Linked DNA regions of Homo sapiens: region 2 is linked to region 1. Evidence: promoter capture Hi-C in human tissues and cell types (Jung and others, 2019). All regions are on one chromosome and are shown on one strand. Each heading gives the region's core, a stretch centred on a gene start or on the middle of the fragment in contact. The rest is flanking DNA. Distances are from core to core; before and after follow the strand shown. Region 1 holds the start of IGLON5 (IgLON family member 5). Region 2 overlaps ZNF175 (zinc finger protein 175).

Region 1 (2,526 bases), core at 16-2,515:
TGCACTCTCCTCCCTTTTCTTAGGGGGAAATCTAGGAATCTCCTTGACCACCCCCTGCCTGCCAGGCCCTACTGGGGAGACTCAAGGTCCAGCTATCTAACCTCAGTGCAGAAACCTGCCCCTGGCCCTCTCCCCAACTGGGAGGGCCGGGCCGGGCCGGGGTTAACCCTTCAACCTGCTTTAACCCTTCCCTTCCGTCTTTCCTTCATCCTCCCATGCCCATCGCTCTTCCACTGTCCAGCCCCACGAACCTAGACATTCAATCAGAGCTTGGGAATCCAAGACCCCAGCCCAGCACCCCAACTTCCTGTATCTCCAGCTCCCTTCTCCCCCACATAACTGCAACCTCCCCAAGTACCAACACTTTCTCTCAACCTAGATGACCCTGCTGGGGGATTTCAGACCCTTCCCCTCTTTTCCTGACCCTGGGACTAGGTCTGTGGACACCCTTGTCCCCTCCTCTTACTGACCCTGGGAAGGCATCCATCCCCTGACCTCTGTCCCGAGATGACTACCCCAGCCCCCGGCAAGGACCTCTTCAGGGACCCTCTCCACGTACAGATGAAGACCCCTAACAGGGCATTATCCCCTGCCCCCCACCCCAACTCAGTTCGGAGATCCGACCCGGGGACCCCGAGTCCAGTGTCTGCCCCCTCCTCAACAGGAGCCGCAGACTCCTGCCCCCAGGCAGGGCTAGGTGTCTGCGACCCTCTTGCCTGCTCGGGGAAGCAGACCTCCGCCCCTAGACCCGGCTCCGGCCCGAGGACGCCGACCCCTGCCCCGGGGCGCGGACCCCCACGTCCGAGGTCCCCCTGCCCAGCCAGGGAATGCAGACCCCACCCCCGGGCCCAGACCCCGGCGTCCCGGGGCCTCCCCGCGCCGGCCCAGGGATGCAGCCCTCGACCCCCACCCCTGATCCCCCGATTACCCACCCAAGACCCTGGCGTCCCGGCCGAGCCCCCCGCCCCCGGCGCTGCGGTACCTCGGCTGATGACGGCCAAGCCGGCCAGGGCGGCGGCGGCGAGAAGCCGGAGCCGGGCCCCGGGCGCAGGGGGGGGCATCGCGGCAGAGGCGGCGCGGAGGGGGAGGGGAAAGGGGGGGCCGGTCCGGGGCGCGCGAGGCCTGGGGGGAGAGGGGGGAGGGGGAGGGGGACCCCGCCTGCGCTGCACCGGCCCGGGGGGCGGCGGGGGCGGGGGGAGGGGGCTGGGGGGGCGCGACGAGGCGGCTGGAGCTGCTGCAGACCCGGGGAGGGGGGCGGCGCTGACGGGCAGGGAGACCGGCCAATCAGGAGAGGTGGGGGGCCGGGGAGGCGGGGTCAAGGGGGGGTTGCTTGTTGGAGGGAGAGGCCTTTGTTACTGCGGCCCGGCCCCTACCCCTCCCGCCCCAGGCGTCCCCACGTCTTTCCACCACATCCGCAGAACACGGAGTCTGGGATACTTCCTAAAACCCAGCTCCCTCCTCCTTCAAGTCCCAATCTCATCCTCCCATGGACCTAGGAGACTAGCCCCAGTCCCTCCTCTCTCAGACCCAGGAGCCCAGGTCCCCAGCCCCTCCTCCCTCAGACCCTGGAGTCCAGGCCCCCAGCCCCTCCTCCCTCAGACCCAGGAGTCCAGGCCCCCAGCCCCTCCTCCCTCAGACCCAGGAGTCCAGGCCCCCAGCCCCTCCTCCCTCAGCCCAGGAGTCCAGGCCCCCAGCCCCTCCTCCCTCAGACCCAGGAGTCCAGGCCCAGCCCCTCCTCTCTCAGACCCTGGAGCCCAGGCCCCCAGCCCCTCCTCCCTCAGACCCAGGAGTCCAGGCCCCCAGCCCCTCCTCCCTCAGACCCTGGAGCCCAGGCCCCCAGCCCCTCCTCCCTCAGACCCAGGAGTCCAGGCCCCCAGCCCCTCCTCCCTCAGACCCAGGAGTCCAGGCCCCCAGCCCCTCCTCCCTCAGACCCTGGAGCCCAGGCCCCCAGCCCCTCCTCCCTCAGACCCAGGAGTCCAGGCCCCCAGCCCCTCCTCCCTCAGACCCAGGAGTCCAGGCCCCCAGCCCCTCCTCCCTCAGACCCTGGAGCCCAGGCCCCCAGCCCCTCGTCCCTCAGACCCAGGAGTCCAGGCCCCCAGCCCCTCCTCCCTCAGACCCAGGAGTCCAGGCCCCCAGCTCCTCCTCCCTCAGACCCTGGAGTCCAGGCCCCCAGCCCCTCCTCCCTCAGAGCCAGGAGTCCAGGTCCCCAGCCCCTCCTCCCTCAGGCCCAGGAGTCCAGGTCCCCAGTTCCTCCTCCCTCAGACCTAGGAGTCCAGGCCCCCAGCCCCTCCTCCCTCAGACCCAGGAGTCCAGGTCCCCAGTCCCTCCTCCCTCAGACCCTGGAGTCCAGGCCCCCAGCCCCTCCTCCCTCAGACCCTGGAGTCCAGGCCCCCAGCCCCTCCTCCCTCAGACCCAGGAGTCCAGGCCCCCAGCCCCTCCTCCCTCAGACCCAGGAGTCCAGGCCCCCAGCCCCCTCCTCCCTCAGACCCAGGAGGCCAGGCCCCCAGGCCCCTCTTCCTGTGGGCC
Region 2 (2,526 bases), core at 14-2,513, 270 kb before region 1:
TTCCATAGGACTACACCATTTTACATTCCCACTAGTAATACACAAGGATTCCAGTTTCTCTATATCCTTGCCAACACTTGTTATTCTGTTTTTTTAATTGTAGCCATTCTAATGGATGTAAAGGGATATCACCCAGTGGTTTTGATTTGCATTTCCCACATAATTAGTGAAGTTGAGCATTTTTTCCTATTATTGGCCACTTGTATATCATCTTTGAAGACATGTCTATTCACATCCTTTTCCCACTTATTAAAATAGGTTGTTTTCTATTTCATTTTTCACTCTTAAATAGCAATTTTACCCATATACAGGTGGTCATTTATTCTGGCAATCTTCCACTGTGTCCCCAGGCAGCGATCTGAAACATTTTTAACTTCTCACTTTATTCAGGTCATAAAAATCTTGCTGAACCTGGTAACACTTAAATTACTGCCCAAAATGTTCAATGTAAACTATCAGAACTGTACTGAAAAGCTTTTCCACAACTCTCCAACACAGCCTAACAATGTCGATTGCAAAAAAGAAGTCCAATTTATTCTCAAATCCAAGCACACTCTCATGTCCTCTATTCCCATTAAGCTTGCTTCATCTGCTTCTTTGTTTCAATTCAAAATGGCTTCTTGAACCAGTTATAGGTACTATGCCCTTAAAATTAATTCCCAATGTCACTCCACCTCTAGGCTGACATCATTTTTCTGAACTTCACCAGCATTTGCTATCCATGCTTCCCATGTTGATACACTTACTTTTTGAGTAGCCTTCCATGAAATAGACATGATTGATGCACAAAGGCTAATACTTTTAACATTTAATGCCATTGTCCTCTCCATCCAAATACAATCTCCGTTCTTTTGAATTTATCTCAGCAAATATTTAAAGCATCCTTTTAAAATACTGTGAAATATTCTTTTCTGCCCATTTTCAGAAAATCAGTAATTTCTGTATCCTAAATACAAAAATCCTAATCCTATATCTTAAATACAATGGTTTCCTCATGCTAAACATTGATATAATGAAGATTAAGAAAGTACAAAGTAATCAGCAGAGTGTATGCAAAGTGAATCATTCTATGGAGTAGACATTAAACAACATACAAAAACAATGGAGCAGAGCATGAGTGATGAAAACTATTCAGGTATATTTTTAAATTGGAAATATGTGGCCATGAGGACAATATCACTGAAAAGAATTTGTTAATCCTACACAGTAGGAAATAGAACTGCCTGTTTTTATCATATCTACTGAGGAAAAAAGAAACAAAATAGCCATGTTTGGGGTCATAAAATCTGTCAGTATCTTGACTAAACTCAAAAACCTGAAATCAACATATCTCACTGGGAACAAAATTGTCTAAATATGAGAAAATGGGGATCTAGTTTGTTGTAATACCACTGGGATTAAGAAAAAGGGTCACTTTTTTCTTAATTAAAACAAGAAAAACTGGTAAGAATTCCAAAGTAATAAATTAAATTAGAGGACTGTGTTTCTGAGCCCAGAAACAGAAAAATCTCACAAAATTTATCAGGTGAGAATTCCTTATTTGGATGATGATGATTCCAATTTCTGATCTCCCAAAATTAAGGAAGTGAGTCATCTCATGGGAACTGTCCTCCGTGGAGCTAAGTAAGGTAGCAGAACACAGTTTAAGCACAGGGACTAGAGGTACTGATATATAAATCATTAGAATAAAAATATGAGGACTAAGAGTTCAGAATGGATGGGTCCTTTAAGTCAATTCCTGTGGGAAAAGATGCCCATAGCCGGGCACGGTGGCTCACGCCTGTAATCTCAGCACTTTGGGAGGCCAAGCCAGGCGGAACACCTGAGGTCGGGAGTTCGAGACCAGCCTGACCAACAAGGAGAAACCCCGTCTCTACTAGAAATACAAAATTAGCCGGGCATGGTGGTGCATGCCTGTAATCACAGCTACTTGGGAGGCTGAGGCAGGAGAATCACTCAAACCTGGGAGGCGGAGGTTGCGGTGAGCCAAGATCGTGCCATTGCACTCCAGCCTGGGCAACAAGAGTGAAACTCTGCCTCAAAAAAAAGAAAAGATGCCCATATGGAAGAACAGGGCCCCAAGCTAGAGGTGCCACAACTGGGAGGAAAAGAAGACAGCAGATCCAGCAAAGAAAAGAAAATAAATAAAATTAGGGGCAAAAAAACTGGAAAAAAAAGGCAGAAAACTCCATGGACGTAAAGAGATAAGCGGTAAGAAAATGCAACAAACAAATGAAAAAGCCAATCAGATAACAGATAAGATGAGAGGCTCTCACCATTCAGTTATTAGAAAAATAACACTTAAGCAATGAAACAGGCTGGGTGCGGTGGCTCACGCCTATAATTCCAGCACTTTGGGAGGCCGAGGTGGGCAGATCACAAGGTCAGGAGATCGAGACCATCCTGGCTAACAGGGTGAAACCCTGTCTCTACTAAAAATACAAAAAATTAGCCGAGTGTGGTGGCGGGTGCCTGTAGTCCCAGCTACTCGGGAGGCTGAGGCAGGAGAATCACTTGAACCCAGGA

The links. The method cuts DNA at HindIII sites, captures the fragments that hold promoters and counts their contacts. A contact is called where the count stands out against the background at its distance.
Region 2: a fragment that was not itself captured here is called in contact with the fragment with the promoter of IGLON5 in region 1 in 2 of the 25 tissues and cell types used here (adrenal gland and dorsolateral prefrontal cortex).

Annotation. Positions count from the first base shown.
Region 1 is chr19:51,310,383-51,312,908 of GRCh38, reverse strand. It overlaps IGLON5 (IgLON family member 5), which reads right to left and starts at 1,265. Exons shown (of 8, transcript NM_001101372.3): 1 at 983-1,265. The coding sequence starts at 1,061. The HindIII fragment of the contact is 18,731 bases long and covers 1-2,526 here.
Region 2 is chr19:51,582,387-51,584,912 of GRCh38, reverse strand. The region is part of intron 4 of ZNF175 (zinc finger protein 175); the gene reads right to left. Among named protein-coding and RNA genes, the nearest start is that of LINC01530, 11 kb to the left of the region's middle. The HindIII fragment of the contact is 5,405 bases long and covers 1-2,526 here.